Linked DNA regions of Homo sapiens: region 1 is linked to region 2. The links are contacts of gene promoters, found by promoter capture Hi-C in blood cells and fetal thymus (Javierre and others, 2016). All regions are on one chromosome and are shown on one strand. Each heading gives the region's core, a stretch centred on a gene start or on the middle of the fragment in contact. The rest is flanking DNA. Distances are from core to core; before and after follow the strand shown. Region 1 overlaps INPP5A (inositol polyphosphate-5-phosphatase A). Region 2 holds the start of NKX6-2 (NK6 homeobox 2).

What was found. Contacts are between HindIII fragments. The CHiCAGO score rates a contact against its expected background, and 5 or more counts as called.
Region 1: a fragment that was not itself captured here is called in contact with the fragment with the promoter of NKX6-2 in region 2 in 1 of 17 cell types (endothelial precursors); the score reaches 5.6 in endothelial precursors.

What each region holds. Positions count from the first base shown.
Region 1 is chr10:132,655,614-132,659,137 of GRCh38, forward strand. All of the region lies in intron 4 of INPP5A (inositol polyphosphate-5-phosphatase A), which reads left to right. Among named protein-coding and RNA genes, the nearest start is that of INPP5A, 120 kb to the left of the region's middle. The HindIII fragment of the contact is 2,709 bases long and covers 439-3,147 here.
Region 2 is chr10:132,784,610-132,788,587 of GRCh38, forward strand. It overlaps NKX6-2 (NK6 homeobox 2), which reads right to left and starts at 1,538. Exons shown (of 3, transcript NM_177400.3): 1 at 934-1,538; 2 at 671-843; 3 at 1-561. The coding sequence starts at 1,339. The coding sequence ends at 307. The HindIII fragment of the contact is 11,480 bases long and covers 1-3,978 here.

The DNA of each region.
Region 1 (3,524 bases), core at 543-3,042, 130 kb before region 2:
TTCATTTTCGTTTAACGTCACCCGCATCTGGTTTCACCACAGAAGTGGAGCCCTGCAGTGGGAGGGGTGGGGGGCCTGTCACTGGGCTTTGCTGCTGATTTGGCCTACCTGGGAAGCCCAGAAGATGTATTTACTGTAGGGACTTGAGGCTTGCTTGGGGCCTGGTAGGAGCCAAGGCCACCCCATCCTCCCAGCTCAGCTTGGTGACTTACCATCCATGGCTCTGGTTCGCTTGTCACCCGCCCCTCCCAGAGAGGCTGCGTGGGGCTGCAGGCGCCTGAGTGTAGGTCCCAGCCTGTGTCCTGGGCTCTAGTCCCATTGAAGCCTTGTGGCTGGCTGGGCATGGGTCCCATGCAGACTGGTGGGGCCAGGAGGGCCTGGCGTGGGCACCTGCAGCAGCTTCTTCAAGGCCTCCCAGCACTGACCGTGGCCTCTCAAAGCTTCGGCTGCTTCAGCAGCTTTCCTGCTGGGAGCTGTGAGCACTGCTGGGGCCCATGCCCAGGACTGTCCTGACCGGACTGAAAGCCCTAGAGGGAAGCTGGCAGTGGGGACAGGGTGCAAGAGGAAAGACCCTCTCTCCATGCAGCTCCTTCATCCACCCACCTGGAGGAACTCCTAGAGGGAAGGTGGCAGTGGGGTCAGGGTGTGAGAAGGAAAGCCCCACTCTCCTCTTCATCCACCCACCCAGAAGAAGTTTGAAGAAACCATGCCTTTTAATGGCTTAAAGTTGGAGCAGAAGGGTTTATCTGCTGATACAATTAAGATAGCTTCGGGAGAGGGCTGAGAAGGTGTGGCCTGGCGGACACACTGCCTCCAGGGACACCCCTGCCCCCGCCAGCTGTGCCTGCTCAGAGAGTGCCTGCTCCTCGGAGGGTCCCCCCTGCTTGGGAAGGTACCTGCTGCACAGGACCCCAGCTGGAGTCAAGGAGTCAGCAGAAGAGGGGGTTGGAGGAGCGGCTGGGGACAGGAGGTGGCTGTGCGGGCTGCCCCACCTCGCCTCTTGCCTGAGCCCCTCTGTGGCCACATAGACAGAAGGAGGGGTTGGAGGTGCAGCCAGCCAGCTGGGCCAGGTGAGCCGGTCCTGAAGGGCACCAAGCAGGGTTGCCCCGGGCTCCTGAGAGGATTTTTCACATGCAGCAGCTGGAGACAGTTTGGAGGGGCCCAGGGCGGTGCAGACCCTTCCACAGCTGCTCAGGTGGCCCGGAGGCGTGTGCACCCTTCCCTATGCAGCAGGGCTCCACAGGCCTGGGCACTCAGCCCAGATGGTGCATGTGGGGAACCGTGGGACCCCATGTGCCAGGAGTCTCTGGGCAGACAGCAGCGACAGGGCTGTGTGGGGACTTGGGCAGGCCTGAGCCTGGGGTCCGATGACCTAGTTGGGTCTGGGGCAGCCACAAGCCGAGGCGTTGAGGAAGAGAGAGTGAAGTCTGAGCTCCTTGTGTAGGAGACCTCCGTGTGGAGTAGCCCCAGAGGCAGGAGGCTGCCTCAGCCAGGATGGCCCCATGCACTTGCTAAGCTGCGCCGCCTGCTCACTCAAGGCTCTTGGGCTCGGAGCAGAACTATGAGCCTGCAAGGCCTGCTGGGCAGAGTGGCCACAGCACGTGGCCGCTGGTCACCAACCGGGGGCTTACCCCTCTCCCACCCGCTAGCGCTGCCTTTGCACCTCGGAGGGCAGGTCTCTGCTGGCACCATGAGTGACCTGCAAGCACTGCCATGGTGGACTCTGCTCGCGCCTTGGTGGCTTCTAGGCTTTTCCAGGGGCTCTGGCCTCCTGCAGAGCAGGGTCTGCCTCCCCCGCGGCTGGGTCTGTGGAGAGTGAAGTGGGGCACAGATGCCCTTTGCAAGTGCTGTGCACGGCAGCTCACAGCCCCCACCCCCAGCTCTGTAGTCTGTAAGAGGCAGGCTCTCGGCATGGCCCCCAGGCAGTGGCCCTGGTGCTCTTGGGGTGGGGGGCCCCAGTACCCAGCGGTGGCCCAGGAATGAGAGGCCCGCTGCTTCCTGGGAGAGGCCCTTCTGCTTTCCCTCCTCCTCCTCTGTGAGCTCCCCCTTCCACTCTCGTTCTCCTAAATAAGACTTTAGGGAGAATTTATGGAAAATTGATGGAGTTTACGGATGTTCTTTGATCCAGAGAAGGGGAAGGAAAGGCAAACGCGTTTATGATGAGGAAGCTCATCTGCCTTAGGGCTCCAGCCCTGCCCTGGGGCTCGCTGCCTCCTCACCTGCCTGGGGGCAAGACAGTCCTGATGAAGTGAGAGGGGGCGAGATTGGTTTTCTGAGGGCACCGGGCCCTTCATGCTCCCCTAAATCACGGGCTGTCTCCTCAGCGGGCAGGTAATGACCTGCTCCCCGGCCCCAGCACCTGCAGTCCCGTGGGACGCGATGATGTGCGGCTGGGGCTGCAGTGAAGGTGAAACTGTCATATCGATCTTTTTAGCACTAAAATATGAGCCACTTTACTCCGCTCCCCGCTGCTGTGATGTGAAAAATAATAACTCGGATCCAAATTAAAAATATTGATCTCTGGAAGGTGTTGAAAGTAAATAAACACCTTCCGAAGTTTTTGGGTCAGCCGAGAAATGGTATTCAGCAATAAATGTGTCAGAGTCCAGGGTTCTTGATCTGTTTTTTCTTTGAATTGATTTTTCATTATTTACTTCCTAAAAGTGTTGGAATTTGGTCCTCCACTGTGAAATCCCAGTGTTTGGGCACATTATTTCTTTGGGGCTTATGAGGTGCTCCTAATCCACTCCCTTATTGATGGATTGATGTTTGACTCCATAAGCCTGCTTTATTTAGGACCTTCCATCATAATTTTTTGTACATTTAGGCTTGACTCTTTTATTTCCTTCTAACAGATGAGCTGACATTGGGCTATCAAACGGGTGGGAAAACAATTGCCATGAGGTTAATTTCATGGTCGGCTCCGTGCGTTCTGAGCAGACGGGTGTTTCCTGGCTGCAGGCCGGGCCTTGGATGCAGCCTTGACGCGTGTCGATCTGTTTACACACAGGGCTGAGTCCGCCGGCCCCCCGGGGGTGCTCATGGGTGCCCGGGTGTCTGCAAGCTGCCCGCAGCTGGGTGGTCTCTGGGCACGGATGCTCTAGGCCCTCTGGGCTCCAAGGAGGCTGGGTTGTATGTCTCTTGAGAAGCTTTCCTTTCGAAAGGCCACCAAGACCACCGAGACTGCTGAGACCGCCAAAGCCACCAAGACCGCCGAGACTGCCAAGACCACCAAGGCCGCCGGCTGCTCCCGGTGGCTCCATGCACCCGGCAGGAGAGTGGAAGGCGTCGGGCCTGGGGCAGTTTGAAAAGATAGGTGCCGCCAGCATCTGCGCTTCCTCGTGGGTGCTCAACAGGCTGCCTGGGAAGCTCCTTCTGCCATCACCTGGAGTCAGCTGCCGTCCACAGTGGAAGCTGCCAGCCACCAAGGCTACCGACCTGGGCCCTGGGGATGAGCAGCCCAGGAGGCGAAGATGCCTAGGTGGGTCCCCAGCTCTGCAGGTGCCACTCCCCACGCCAGTGTT
Region 2 (3,978 bases), core at 288-2,787:
GCGGTTCCTTCCCGCGGGCCGGGCCCCTTCCCTGCGCCTTCGCCGCCTCCTCGCGCCTGCCCGGGGCCCGCAGCCTCCGCACCGGGAACCCGGAGGACCCGAGGCGGGCGCAGGGGCGAAGCCGGGGCCGGGGAGGGGCCGCCTCGCTCCGGGTTCGAGACGGAAGAAACACGCGGCGCAGGCTCCGGAGCGACGGCTCCGACGGGGACCCGTTAAATAATTTATTGATGATACAAAGCGACTCGCGCCCACCCGGGGCCGCCCCCGGATTCTGCAAAAATAGATTCGCCCCCACCCCGCGGGTCCTCACAAGGCGTCCCCCGCGCCGCCGCCGCACGGGCTGACCAGCGCCAAGTTCGAGGGTTTGTGCTTCTTGAGCAGCCGCGTGATCTTCTCGTCGTCCGAGTTGGGGTCCAGGGGCCGGTTGTATTCGTCGTCGTCCTCCGCGTCCGAGCCGCCCACCTTCAGCTTCTCGGCGTCCGAGTCCTGCTTCTTCTTGGCCGACGCCATCTCCACCGCGTGCCGCTTGCGCCACTTGGTCCGGCGGTTCTGGAACCAGACCTGGGAGTGGACGGGGCGGTCAGGCGGCCGCGGGGCCCGGGGCTGGCGCTGGGGCCGTTCGCAGGACGCGGGCCCCCGGCTCTGCTCTCCCGAGCCCCGCCGCGCTCACCTTCACCTGGCTCTCGGTCATGCCCAGCGAGTAGGCGAGACGCGCGCGCTCCGGGCCCGCCAGGTACTTGGTCTGCTCGAAGGTTTTCTCCAGCGCGAAGATCTGCTGGCCCGAGAAGGTCGGGCGCGAGTGCTTCTTCTTCCCGTCCTTGTCCAGGACGCCGCCGGCCGGGGCTGCAAGGGAGGGGAAGGGAGGGAGGTCAGCGGCCGGCGGGGTCCCCCTCCGCGCCCACCCGCCCCGCACCCCCCGCGCGGGCCACTCACCCGGGCCAGCCAGACGCGGGTCCCTCCAGGGCGCGCCCTGCACCACGCCGGGCCAGAAGATGGGCGGGCGCCCCGGCAGCTCGGCCAGGGGCTTGGGGTAGCCGCGCGCCACAGCGGCCGCGGGCCCGAAGTAAACGCCGGCGGACGACGCGAGCCCGTTGAGCCGGGGCAGCCCCCCCAGGAGGCCCCCGCCCGCCGCGCCCACGGGCCGGCCCAGGATGTCGCTGATGCCGTGCGGGGTCCCGAGCGGGAGCTGCGCGCCCAGGCCCCCCAGCGCGGGCGCCTTGAAGCCGGCCGGACCCTGCAGCGCGTAGGGGAACAGCGACGTCTTCATCTCGGCCATGTTGTGCAGCGCGGCCAGCGGGGCACTGCTCAGCACGAACGCGCCCGGGCGGTTAGTGTCCATGGGCGCCGCCGCCGCCGGCCCGGGCTCCCATCCGGGCCCCGCCGCCGCCGCCCCTGCCCGCCGGCCCGGGAAGTTTGCGCGCGGCCCGGGCGGGCGTCGGCTGCAGCGCGGGGCGCGGGGCGCGGGGGGCGGGCGGGCGGCTCCGGCGCGGGGCGGGCGGGCGGGCGGCGGCGGCGGCGGCTCCGGGGCCGGTCGGAGCGGCGCCGCGCGGGACGGACGCGCTGATAACGGGGGCTCCCCGGGGCGCGGCGCGCGCGCTGATTGGCTGCGGACCCCGCGGTCCGGCCATTGGCCGGCGCCCCCCCCCCGCCCGCGCGCCCCCGCCGGCCGCGCACTCCATGAAGGGCCCATTAGCGCGGCAGGTGCCTCCCGGGCTGTAAATTCGCCCCGATTTATCTCCCCGGGGACGAAATAAATCCAGCTTGGATGGGAGTGTAGTTAGGCAAAGGTTTTCATGCGAAATCAGGAAAAAATACGAGAACGTATTTTATTAACGGAAAGAATGCAGATTTGAGGACCCGCCCGCGCGCTCGGAGCGCCCCACTCGGGGAAGAGTCCCGGCCCGCGTCCCAGTCGCGACTGCTCCGCCGCCCGTGGCTGGGGTGGGTGTGAGCGGCAGCGGACGCCGGCGGGGAACGCGCTCCGGGCAGGTCGGGGCCACAGGAGGGCGGAGGACGCGGGCCTCGAGTCCACGGAATCCACGGGCCTCACGGCCGGGCGAGGCTCGCACGGAGCTGCCTCTGGTTTCGCCGACACGCGGCCGGCGCGGTGGAGGAGTGAGGCAGGCGGGAGCGGGGCGGGGAGGCGGGTCCCGGGACCACACGCGCGGCTCGGCACTTCCCCGTCATCGGCCTCCAGGTCTCCCGCTGGGGGTCCCCCAGGATGTGACCTGGGCCCACGACTTCGCCCACGGGCCGCCTCTCGCGAATCCCCGGCCGGGAGAACAGAGACCAGGACGGCCTCAGCGCGGAAGCCCTGTCCAGGGCCCGAACGTGGGTGCGGGCTGGGGGCGCAGCGGCAGAAACGCGGCCTTAGACGCGCGCGGGGGGCCGGTGTCCCCCCCGCCCCCACGGCACCGGGAGCCGCTCGCTCATCCATCCCGCAGACCGGGCGGTGAGATGACTCCGAGCCCCGCGCACGGCGGCCGCGAGCAAACGCTCCGACGTCTGTGGTGACGTCTCGTATTGATTTAGGGACACGGGGCGGCTGTGGCTGTGGCCCACGGCTCGTGGGGAGCCCGAGTCTGTGCGCAGGGAACGCCGCTGCGTGGCCTCTCTCGGGCCTGTGCCGCGGAGGAAGGCGGCGCCCGGGGTTCGGGGCCGGGGTCTCACGTCCGCCCCCTCGCCCCCCTCCAGCGTCCGTTTTCGTTTTGTGCAGGTCGAGGCGGGGACTTGGCGCCGTCGGCCGCTCCTGGATGGCGGCTTGGAAAAGCCACCTGCGGCCAAACTCCGGGGCAGTGGTGCGGCCGCCGGGTGTGTGCGCGCTCGGGGCTGCCCCGGCGGCTTCCGGCTCCACTGAGGTGCAGCCCCGCGTTCACGGGGGGTTCGCTTCCCCCGTCGACTCCGCACTCGATTCGACTGGGATTGGGATTCGATTGGGCGCGGCCGCCCCACCGGTGATCGGCCCCCGCGGAGCCTGGCCCGGGAACCCCCAGCGCCCGTCCGGCCCCGAGACCCGCCCCGGCCTGTCCTGCGCCCCGCTCCCTCGGAGGAGACACGAGGAAGGGCCCTCCCGGGTCGGGTTCGGGCCCCTCCCAGCACCCCAAGGCGACGGCGCCCGCGCCCAAGGCTCGGGCTCTGAGCTGAGACGCGGGAACTGCGGGGCCGGGGGGGGCGGGCAGGGGGAGTTGGGGGCGGGGGCTGCTGTCGCCCTGGGATCCCCCACTCTGCGCGGCCGGGCAGACCCTGGGCGGGCCGGGAGGGGTGCGGGTCGCCCGAACTGAGGCCCAGGAGGCGCGCGCGGGCGGAACGGCGGGAGGAAGCCGCGCTCGGGACAGGCTCTGGCTCTTCTCACAGCCTGGAGGGGCGGGGCAGGGGGCGTCGCTAGCGCTGTTTTATGGCTGAGGAAACATGGACCTGGAGGCGCTGCGCTGCGGCCCGATAAACCCTGGGTCTGTCTGCGCCCCCCGGTCCTCCCTGGGCTGCCGAGGGAACGCGTGGGGTCGCGGGTGGGGCTGGCGTGTCACTGGCTGCGGAGCGCGCGGCTCTCCAGGGCTCAGGGGCGCGGGATGAGGGGCCAGGGTGAGTTGGGGGCGCAGAGGAGCCGGGTAAGGGGGGGTCCCTCTCCCACGTTCTTGTAAGCCGTGGAAGTCTTGGCGCGCTCCGCAGGTGCCGCGTCCTACCCGGCTCCCCGGCCTGCGCCCCACGCGCTTTCCCGCCCTCCTCCTCGCGGAGCTGCGCGTGGGTCCGGTGGCTTCACCTCCTACGCTTCCCGGCGCCCACTCCGGGCCCCGTCCCCTCTCCGGCCCCCGCCCGCACCTTTTCTCCTGCGTCCCCCGGTGCCGCCCTCTCGGAAACCACCGAGGCAACTCCCCCTCCTCCCGGGAAGGTCCGAGCGCCTCCGACCGCGATGTCTTTGCCTGGGCTCCGCCGCCCGGCGGCCCCGCTGCCTGGAGAGGTCCGCGATGCCACCTCCTGGCC